Linked DNA regions of Homo sapiens: region 1 is linked to region 2. Evidence: promoter capture Hi-C in 16 types of primary human blood cells and fetal thymus (Javierre and others, 2016). All regions are on one chromosome and are shown on one strand. The core of a region is centred on a gene start or on the middle of the fragment in contact, and the rest is flanking DNA. Distances in the headings are between cores, read along the strand shown. Region 1 overlaps WBP4 (WW domain binding protein 4). Region 2 holds the start of MTRF1 (mitochondrial translation release factor 1).

Region 1 (5,836 bases), core at 638-3,137, 180 kb after region 2:
CTCACATCAGCCTCAGAACCAAATCATCACTGGGCTGGGAATATTCTCACGTACTCCGATACTTATTTGTTGGACAACAGTTAATATCAATGTGCAAAAGTAATGCATTTTCAATGCAGGATAAATATGCTCTTATGAATATGAATGGAATAAAGGCCCTGTTTCTCCATGTTTTAAATAACAGATACATAGCATCTTAAATTATGACTTAATTAGCAGTTTTTAGACACTGAACATAATACACTGTATTACAATGCAATGTGGTAGGCTTCCATTTTAGGAACCAAAATAAATTTCACATGAAAAAATATTTATTTTAATTCACATCAAATACATTTAGAATAAATCTAAATTTTTAGCATCATAATACTTACAAACAAACACAGATAAACTTTGGGTGTATAAGTCTCCATTCTGTCCTAAAAGCATGTACAAAAAGCTCTCCTGCAACTATTGATCATCACCTCGTTGCCTTAAATTTCTAGATTTTCCATTTTCAGTTCTTCTCTTTTTGAAGACTGGGGCCACTCCATCTGCCATAACTCCAAGAGAAGTGACTGTTTTTTCTTTAAATACCACTTTGGGTTCTCCGCCACCATCAGCTTCTGAAGTTGATACATACTCATTTTCAGTGCTTGGAAGTTCCAAATCTACCTCCTCACTGGAAATAGAGTTAAAGTAAAACTCTATTTGACAGGGTAAGACAAACGTTTTCATATAACCAATGCCCCAAGATCAGCTTTCTAATGACATTAGAAGTTGCTCATTTTGGAGTAGGAACTACTTTAAAATACTGACTTTACAATATTATTTAAGATACTGAACACTTATTCAGGTGGATAAATGCTGGGAGAAGTTCTATGTATTAATTTATTCCTGTTGCACAAAGGATGCATTATCTAAGAAAATGCTTGGGCTTATATATAAGCAGTACAAGTAAAGGGATAAGGGGGTTGGGTGCGGTGGCTCAATCTTGTAATCCCAGCACTTTGAGAGGCCGAGGCAGGAGGATCACTTGAGCTCAGGAGTTTCGAGATGCGCCTGGGTAACATGGCAAAACCCCATTGCTACAAAAAATACAAAAATTATCTGGGCATGGTGTCATGTGCCTACAGTCCCAGCTACTCGAGAGGCTGAGGTGAGAGGATCACTTCAGCCTGGGAGGCAGAGGTTGCAGCGAGTCGAGATCTCATTTTCCTATTGTAGAAGACTGAATGGAGCTGTATGCCTAGCACTCCTTTGCTAAGAACTAGCCCTTCAACCATCCACATGATTAATTATAAATAATCAGTTGAGTGGTCCTGATATCAGCACCTGATTAAAAAGAGCCTATCACAGTACCGTACTCCCTAGATAGTCAACTGGTCTGTGAAAGAGTAAATTAGTCACATCACACCCATCAGTCCCATCTATGAGACTCTGGAAAATGGACCGGAAAGATCGTTATGTTTAAGTAGCTGAGAGCGTAAAACCTGTTGAAAAACACACATCATCCTATTTGGAGAATGGAGCTCTGCAGAAGGCAATCTATTCCAAGGATTTTTTCTTTTTAGGACAGAGTCTTGCTCTGTCTCCCAGGCTGGAGTGAAGTGGTGCCATCATAGCTCAAAGCAGCCTCCAACTCCTGGGCTCAAGTGAACCTCCTGCCTTAGCCTCCCAAGGTACTGGGCTTATAGGCGTGGGCCACTGCACCTGCCTGGCCAGCAAGGACCTTCTTTGCTATCAGTTATCATAGGCTGTTTTAAGTTATAAAACTAAATAGCAACACTGAATCCTATAGAAATGTACTTTGCTGAGTAATACTTGAGTTGCTGCAATATTTGCTTATCTATTTAGTTTTTACATTTTTTTTTTTTTTTTTTTTTTGGAGACAAGGTCCTACTCTGTTGCCCAGGCTGGAGTGAAGTGGTGTGAACATGGCTCACTGCAGTCTCAACCTCCTGGGCTCAAGTAATCCTCCCACCTCAGCCTCTCAAGTAGCTGGGAACATGATGTGTGCCACTATTCCCTGCTAAGTTTTTTTTTTTTGGTAGAGAGAAAGTTTTGCCATGTTGGCCAGGCTGGTCTCGAACTCCTGACCTCAGTTGATCTGCCTGCCTTGGCCTCCTGAAGTGCTGGGATTACAGGCGTGAGCCACCTCACCCAGCCAAGCTATACTTTTTCTTTTTCGAGATGGAGTCTTGCTCTGCTGCTAGGCTGGAGTCCAGTGGCGCGATTTCAGCTCACTGCAACCTCCACCTCCTGGGTTCAAGCGATTCTCCTGCCTCCACCTCCTGAGTAGCTGGGATCACAGCTACATGCCACCACACCCAGCTAATTTTTGTATTTTTAGTAGAGACAGGGTTTCACCATGTTGGCCAGGATGGTCTCATCTCTTGACCTCGTGATCCGCCCACCTCAGCCTCCCAAAGTGCTGGGATTACAGGGGTGCATCTGGCCTCAAGCTATACTTTTAATAAGCACAGCATCCTTGAAATTACTTACTGCAATTTAGGGAAGTACTGGGATGTAAAATCACTTGTAATAACAGTGGGATTAAAGCTCCAGGTACTTACTGAGACTCAACCTCTTGTTTAATTTCTTGCCATTCTCCATATGGGTTTGATTTCTTAAGAGTTTTCGATTTTTCTTCATTTGAACCTAATGAATTCTGTTTCTGAATACTTTTTTCTTTCTGTGTTTCTGGGTCACTTCCTCCATCACTATTTTTATTTTTTTCCTGAAATGTAAAAGCCAAGAAATAATACAGTTCAAGCAAAACTACCAAGACAAAAATAAAATTTAAGGCTTTTAAAGGTATTGTTATAGATTTATAAACAATAATTCACTAACTCAAATCTGCACATAACACAATAAATATACATAGAACTTTACTGCTTGATTAGGTTTTCCATGTCTGAAATGTTGATATACCATGACAAAGGCTCCCTAAATCACCACCTTAATGTCTTAAGTTCTACAATTAAGGACATATAAACAGGGCTCTCTTAACTTCTCTCTTCTGCTTTCTTGCTTTACTTGCATACCCAACAGTGACTCCCTTTATAATTGTGGCTCTGTTGAATTCTTCTGGGAGGCGGCAAGATTATAGGGAGTTTGTCCTTGTTTACCTGTATTTTGTAATTTTTTTCCTTTTCCTATAATTTATCTTTTAAAAAATAACTTAGGGGGCACAAATGCGTATTTCTTACATGTATATATTATGTCATGGTGAAGTACGGGCTTTTAGTGTACCTATAACCTGAACAGTGAACAAACCCAATAGACACATGTTCAACTCACCTCCCTCCCACCCTCCCACCTTTTATGGTCTCCACTGTCTATTAGTCCATTCTGTATGTCCATGTGTGCCCACTGTTTAGCTCCCACTTATAAGTGAGAACATGTAGTATTTGACTTTGAGTTATTTCACTTAGGTTAATGGCCTCCAGTTCCATTCACATAGCTGCAAAAGCTATCATTTCATTTTTTATGGCTGAGTAGTATTCCATGGTGTGTGTGCGTGTGTATATATACCGCATTTTTTTTATCCAATCCTCCGTTGACGGACACTTAGGTTGATTTACTTTTTGCTATTGTGAACAATGCTGCTACAAATATATGAGTGCAAGTATCTTTTCTGTTTAATGATTTCTTTTCCTTTGGGTAGATACTCAGAAGTGGGACTGCTGGATTGAATAACAGTTCTGCTTTTAGTTCTCTGAGAAATGTTTTCTATAAAGGTTATACCAACATACATTCTCAGTAAGTGTATAAGTGTTTCCCTTTCTCTGCATCCTTGCCAGTATCTGTTGTTTTCTGATTTTTTTTTTTTTTTTTTTTTGAGACGGAGTCTTGCTCTGTCACCCAGGCTGGAGGGCAGTGGCATGATCTTGGCTTACTGCAACCTCTGCCTCCCAGGTTCAAGCAATTCTCCTGCATGCGCCACCATGCTCGGCTAATTTCTTTTGCATTTTTAGTAGAGATGGGGTTTCACCATGTTGGTTAGGCTGGTCTTGAACTCCTGACCTCAAGTATCTGCCAGCCTCAGCCTCCCAAAGTGTTGGGATTACAGGTGTGAGCCACTGCATCCAGCCATTTTCTGACTTTTTAATTACAGCCTTCTGACTGGTGTAAGATGGTATCTCCTTGTGATTTTCATTTGCATTTCTCTGATGATCAGTGATGTTGAGCATTATTCATGTGTTTTGGCCACCTGTGTGTCTTTTGAAAAATGCCTGTTCATGTCCTTTTCCCCCTTTTCAATGGAGTTGTTTTTTTCTTGTTGAGTCCCTTGCGGATTCTGGATATTAGTCCTGTGTTGGATGCATAGTTTGCAAACAGTTTTTCCCAATATGTGGGCTGTTTATTTACCCTGTTAATTGTTTCTTTTGCTGTGCATAAGCTTTTTAATTAAGTCCCTCCCATTTGTCTATTTTTATTTTTGTGTTTACTTTTGAAGACTTTGTCGTAAATTCTTTGCTTACGTCAATGACCAGATGAGTTTTTCCTAGATTTCCTTCTAGGATTTTTTTTTTCTTTTCCTTTTTCTTTTTTTGAGACAGAGTTTCACTCTTGTCGCCCAGGCTGGAATGCAACGGCACGATCTTAGCTCACTGCAACCTCCGCCTCCCAGGTTCAAGCGATTCTCCTGCCTCAGCCTCCCAAGTAGCTGGGATTACAGGCATGCGCCAGGACACCCAGCTAATTTTCTATTTTTAGTAGAGATGGGGTTTCTCTATGTTGGTCAGGCTGGTCTTTAACTCTCGACCTCAGGTGATCCGCCCACCTCGGCCTCCCAAAGTGCAGGGATTACAGGTGTGAGCCACCATGCCTGGCCTCCTTCTAGGGTTTTTATAGTTTCAGATCTTTAAACATTTAAGTCTTTAATCCATCTTAACTTTTGTACATGGTTAGAGGTAGGGGTCCAGTTTCATTCTTCTGCATACAGCTAGCCAGTTTTCCCAGGATCATTTATTGAATGGGGTATCCCTTCCCCAGTGTATATTTTTGTTGATTTTGTTGAAGATCAGTTGGTTGTAGGTATGTGGCTTTATTTCTGGGTTCTCTATTCTGTTCCATCAATCTATGTGCCTATCTTTATGCCAGTACTGTGCTGTTTTGGTTATGACAGCCTTGGAATATAGTCTGAGGCCAAGTAATGGGATGCCTCCACCTTTGTTCTTTTTGCTTAGGACTGCTATGGTTATTGAGGCTCTTTTTTGGTTTCACATAAATTTCAGAATTGGCTTTTCTAATTCTGTAAAAAATGAAGTTGGTAATTTGATAGGGATTGTGTTGAATCTGTAGATTGGTGTGGCCAGTATGTCATTTTAGTGATATTGATTCTTCCAATCCAGAAGCATGAGATGTTTTTTCATTTGTGTGTATCATCTATGATTTCTTTAATCAGTGTTTTGTAGTTCATTTTGTAGGGATCTTTCACTTCCTTGGTTAAATGTATTCCGAGATTTTTTTTTTGTAGTTACCACAAATGGGATTGAGTTTTTTATTTGGTTCTCGGTTTTACCATTATTATATAGATATAGGTATACAGAAATGCTACTGATTTTTGTACAGTGATTTTGTATCCTGAAACATGACTGAAGTCACTTATCAAATCCACGTGTGTTTTGGAGGGGTCTTTAGGGTTTTCTAGGTAGTAAGATCATTTAATCAGCAAACAGAGATAGTTTGACTTCCTCTTTTTCAATTTGGATGCCTTTTACTTCTTTCTCTTGCCTGACTGCTCAGGCTAGCACTTCCAATATTATGTTGAAAAGGAGTGGTTGAAGTGAGCATCCTTGCTTTCTTAGGGAGAATACTTTCAGTGCTTCCCCATTCAGTATAACGTTGG
Region 2 (5,662 bases), core at 1,269-3,768:
GGGCAGATCACAAGGTCAAGAGATTGAGACCATCTGGCCAACATGGTGAAACCCCATCTCTACTAAAAATACAAAAATTAGCTGGGCGTGGTGGTGTGCACCTGTAGTCCCAGCTACTTGGGAGGATGAGGCAGGAGAATTGCTTGAATCCGGGAGACAGAAGTTGCAGTGAGCCAAGATCAGGCCACTGCACTCCAGCCTGGTGACAGAGCGAGACTCCACCTCAAAAAACAAAAAAACAAAAAAACAAAAAACCACCAGCTGGGTGGCCTAAACAACAGAAATTTGTTTCTTAGCCTCTTGCGAGATTGGGAAGTCTAACATCAAGGTGGCAGCAATGTAGGTTTCAGTCTGATACCTCTTCTCTTGGCTTGTAGGTGGCCACCATCTCACAGTGTACTCACGTAACCTCTTCTTTGTTTGGGCAGGGACAGTGAGCAAGATCTCTGGTGCCTTTTTAGAAAGGCACTAATCCTATTATGTCAGGGCTCTACTCTTACGACCTCATCTGACCTTAATCACCTTAAAGGCCCTATCTCCAATACAGACACATGTATTGGAGGGGTTAGGGCTTCAATATATGAATTTTAAAAATAAATATTAGTAATATGCACATGATTATGAATATAAACAATTCAGTCCATAGCAGTAAGACTACTTTTTTTTTTTTTTGAGACGGAGTTTCACTCTTGTTGCCCAGGCTGGAGTGCAATGGTGCAATCTTGGCTCACTGCCACCTCTGTCTCCTGGGTTCAAGCGATTCTCCTGCCTCAGCCTCCGAGTAGCTAGGATTACAAGCATGAGCCACCACGCCCAGCTAATTTTGTATTTTTAGTAGAGATGGGGTTTCTCCATGTTGGTCAGGCTGGTTTCGAACTCCTGACCTCAGGTGATCCACCTGGCTCGGCCTCCCAAAGTGCTAGGATTACAGGCGTGAACCACCACGCCCGACTAAGACTAATTTTTTAAGGAGAATAAAGCTTTATATATAATACTCAAGTTATATAGCTGAAAGCACAAATCAGAATAAATAATTAAAGAACTTTTTGGATAACTTAGGAGAATGACTTTATGTAGACCCTTTGAAACTTTTCCCCTACTGGAACATAAGCTCCATGTGGGCAAAGGTTTTTGTCTTTTCTGTTCATTGCTAAATCCTCATGACTAGAATAGTGAATAGCACATAACTGGTGTTCACTATTTATTGAATACATGATTGAAGGTTTTTTCTTTTTTGGAGCAGGGTGGCCCTATATCAGAGCTTAGGAGCCACAGATCATTAAAGCCATTGCCTTAATTGAGTCTTGGCTCTATCACTTACTGTTTTTTACCTTGGAGTAGTTACTTTAGCTCTGTGTGCCTTAATTTTCTCCTCTGCAAAATAAGTATTTTAAGGTTGTAAAAATTAAATGAATTAATAGGGTAAAACCATTTAGAACAGTATTTAGTACATAGTACATAGAAGTAGGTACCTTGAAGTTGGCTATAAACGTTAGATATTATTTTGCATATATAGCTAATTCTCCTATCTATGTATGTGATTATAATCTAAGAAAATACTCTGTAAAGTCAGTAATATGGTACATTTTTTGCCTTTTCTTTCAGGAAGAAAAATTGAGGCATGGAGATAGAAAGACTGTAAATTGCGATAGCCAAGGGCTGGATCCCACTGGATTAGTCAAAGTAGGACAATATGCTTGCATTTTCCTGCAATTGTTTATTAACTGGAGTTTTCATTCTTCACTTAATCAGTGGTTCATAAGCTATGAATCTAGGTTGAGCCCCTACATTCCCATGTGCAAAGAACATTATAAAATCACTAACATGTGGAAATACACGGTCTCCTAACTTTTGGGGCTGTTACTACTTTTAAAATATAAATTTATTTGTATTATCCTTTAGTCATTAGGTATTTTCTGAAGCAATGGAAGCTGAAAGTATAGAAATTACACGCAGAATCTTCTACATTTGTGGATGATGTAAAAGGAGTCTTTATTTTTTTTAAATATTGGAAAACAGTGCTTTACGGGCTTCTAATACATAAGGAAATTATTGTAATTTCACATGCAATGTGTTCTAAATCTTGATCTCTTAATCAGAATCGTAAAGAATCTCTCTTCTAGGTTTGCAGTTAACGGTGAAAACCAAAAACTCCACATTTGGCTGGATAGTGAGTGGAGGGGGTTGGAGGCTGCCGCAAGGTAAACTACAACTCCCAGGATTCTTTGGTGGGCGCTCTGGGAGTTGTAGTTTAGTCCCACCTTGGCCCCTCCCTCCCTCCCTCCCTCCCACCATCTCCATCCCCGCTCTGGGCTCACGCTCTGGATAAGGACGGCGCGGGGGCGGTTGTCTGATGACAATTTCATTCTCGTTTTGTCATTTTTCTCATTTAGCTCATTTTTGTCATTTTAGTCCATTGTTAGGCATGCTCGAGGACAACTCCTCCGGAGAGCGGTAGTGGCGGAGGAGGGGCCGGGAGCGTGCGTTAACCCGGAAGAAGTGAACCAGGAAGTGAACGTGATCTCGGGTTTGTCGGGCTGAAATGTGGCGGGTCTCGGAAGGTTCCGACCTCAGTAAAGAGAGCTAACGTGTATTCTTCTTTTTCTTAGGTACTCACAGTTCTTTCCTGATCTTCCCCGCCGCCTCCTGTATTGCCTCTTTATGGAATCACTCCATATACTGAGTTACACAGCATGGTTTGCCCGTGCTGCTGCCCCGCGGGCTGTCGCTTCTGACCTGCCTACACTCAGAACTTTCCCCAAAGCATCAGAGTAATACTGTTACTGTGATGGGTAATGGAGAAGTCGTGCTGTTCTCAGGTGTAGTTAACCTTGGAGAGTAAACATCTTGTTTTGTTTTGTTTTCCTTAATGTTGAGATTCATGACCTTGAAAATTATGCATTCTACTACTGTTCCTAAAATGGAAATTTTAGCAATAAGTATTCGTACAAACATATATTTGTCATCCTTTTATTCTGTCTGTTAGCAAATGGATACACTTTCTCTAACGTGCTTGAAATACGGGGGTGGTGGAGTGTAACGTTTGTGACAGCTGGCCATTGGTGCTTTCTTCAACAGTTCTTTTAATAATGTGATGCAGTATCCTAAAATCTATCAGTAGAACTCTGGAAACTGAATATTTTAAAGACCATTCTGACTATTTTATTTCCTAGGTGATAATGCTAAGTTAACAGACTTATAGTGAACAAATGAGCTAATATATCAATGCACCTCCTAGCATAGTAGGATCACTGGAGACAGTAAAGTTTGATTTTGATAAATGTTGATCCTTCTTTTTTTGAGTTGAGTCTCACTGTGTTGCCCAGGCTGGCCTTGAACTCCTTGGCTCAAGTGATCCTCCTGCCTCAGTCTCCTGGGTAGCTGGGACAATAGGTGCATGCTACTGTGCGTGGCTTGACCCTTATTTCAACTTTGAACCTTAGAGTTTTCTTAGAACACTTTATATTCTCCCTTTCTTACTCAGTAAGACCATTGTGTACTTTTGTTAGCTCTTGATTATCTCTGTTGGAGGGGAGGAGAACAGAAAATTATTGTACACAGCCAATTTCACCTAACCTGTAATTTTTTAAACTAATCTTTTTTTATGATTAGGAAAGTATTCCATGCTACATGTGCAAGAAACTTGGAAAACACTGAAAAGTAGAAAAAATAGCAAGCAAAAGGTATTCATAATCTCACAACTAGAGATCATTTTATTAACATTTTGGTATGTTTCTTTTTTTTTTTTTTTTTTTGAGACAGCGTGTTGCTTTGTCGCCCACGCTGGTTGCAGTGGTGCGATCTCAGTTCACTGCAACCTTCGCCTCCCAGGTTCAAGCGATTATCCTGCCTCAGCTTCCCGAGCAGCTAGGACTACAGGTGTGTGCCATCACGCTCAGCTAATTTTTTTGGTATTTTTAGTAGAGATGGGGTTTTCCCATGTTGGCCAGGCTGGTCTCGAACTCCTGACCTCAGATGATCTGCCCGCCTCGGCCTCCCAAAGTGGTAGGATTACAGGCGTGAGCCACTGTGCTCGGCACATTTTGGTATGTTTCTTATTTAACTTTCTTTTTAAAAAATACTCTATGTGCTTTTTTTTTTTTACATGTATACCTTATATTGTAGAATATTTTTTAAATGTAATTGAGATTCTATTTTGTTCCTTGCCTTTCTTGCTTAATATAATTGTCACCATTTAATATAACTGTAGAGCTTTTCACCAGCCCTACTTTCTTGGTCTATTAATACTTGAACTTTTCTTCCTTTAGGATCTCAGCTAAACGGGAAGCATTTTTGAAAAGTGATTGCACAATTGAGAGTGAAAATTACTGAGTCCTGAACAGGCAACTTACATTCTAATACCAGCTCTGTCTCCATCCAGCCGACTGAATAGTCGTGATTAAGTTACTTGACTTCCTTGGATATCTAGATCCTTAAAGTTAAAGAATTATACAAGATAATAATATTTTCTTCAAACTTTAGAAAATGACTTTATGAACCGCCTTAAGTTTGTATGTTTTCATAGCTTTCAAGAGCTTGTTTACACACTCAATTCTAGATTCTAGATACTTTCTAGAAAATAACTGACTTAACTCATTCAATTGATATATTTGTTAGTTGTACTCCTACTCATATGCTTCAGTTAATTATATATGTTGAACAGGTAGGAAGCAGTGCTGTTTTTATTTATTTTAATATGTTATTCATACATTTGAAGAATTATGTTCTTTCTGTAGGCAGCTGAATTTTTTTTTTTTTTGAGACGAAGTCTTGGTATTGTCCCCCTTGCTGGAGTGCAATGGCATGATCTCGGCTCACTGCAACCTCTGCCTCCTGGGTTCAGGCAATTCTCCTGCCTCAGACTCCTGAGTAGCTGGGATTACAGGCGCCTGCCACCACGCCCGGATAATTTTTGTATTTTTAGTAGAGACAGTGTTTCACTATGTTGGCTGGGCTGGTCTCGAACTCCTGCCCTCAGGTGATCCGCCTGCCTCAGCCTCCCAAAGTGCTGGGATTACTGGCGTGAGCCACTGCTGCCAGCCGGCAGTTGAATTTTAAGACTGTGGAGCTGGCTGAGGCAGTAGATGAAACAAGATTTCTTGATGTTCCTTCCAGGTTTATTATGCATGTATCTTTAGAGATGATTTTTTTTTAAAGACTGTGTTTATTGTATTTCAGATGCTGAGATGAATCGTCACCTGTGTGTTTGGCTTTTTAGACATCCATCTCTTAATGGTTACCTCCAGTGTCACATCCAGCTCCATTCTCATCAATTTAGACAGATACATCTTGATACAAGGCTGCAAGTTTTTAGACAAAACAGGAATTGCATTCTTCATCTGTTAAGTAAGAATTGGTCCAGGAGATATTGCCATCAAGACACCAAGATGCTCTGGAAGCATAAAGCACTACAGAAATATATGGAGAACCTGAGTAAGGAGTACCAAACACTTGAGCAATGTCTGCAGCATATCCCTGTGAATGAGGAAAACCGAAGGTCCTTGAACAGAAGGCATGCTGAGTTGGCACCTCTTGCAGCCATTTACCAAGAAATTCAGGAGACTGAACAAGCAATTGAAGAATTAGAATCAATGTGTAAAAGTAGGTAAAAGATACTTATGTGTCCTGCATAAGGGCTATGAAAAAAAAAACCACACACTTA

What was found. Contacts are between HindIII fragments. The CHiCAGO score rates a contact against its expected background, and 5 or more counts as called.
Region 1: a fragment that was not itself captured here is called in contact with the fragment with the promoter of MTRF1 in region 2 in 1 of 17 cell types (megakaryocytes); the score reaches 5.2 in megakaryocytes.

The regions. Positions count from the first base shown.
Region 1 is chr13:41,077,529-41,083,364 of GRCh38, reverse strand. WBP4 (WW domain binding protein 4) reads right to left here. Exons shown (of 10, transcript NM_007187.5): 9 at 2,556-2,719; 10 at 1-661. The coding sequence ends at 451. Among named protein-coding and RNA genes, the nearest start is that of WBP4, 19 kb to the right of the region's middle. The HindIII fragment of the contact is 4,999 bases long and covers 1-4,386 here.
Region 2 is chr13:41,260,432-41,266,093 of GRCh38, reverse strand. It overlaps MTRF1 (mitochondrial translation release factor 1), which reads left to right and starts at 2,518. Exons shown (of 10, transcript NM_004294.4): 1 at 2,518-2,609; 2 at 5,179-5,601. The coding sequence starts at 5,187. RefSeq lists a silencer at 2,223-2,312 and an enhancer at 2,600-3,100. The HindIII fragment of the contact is 4,724 bases long and covers 983-5,662 here.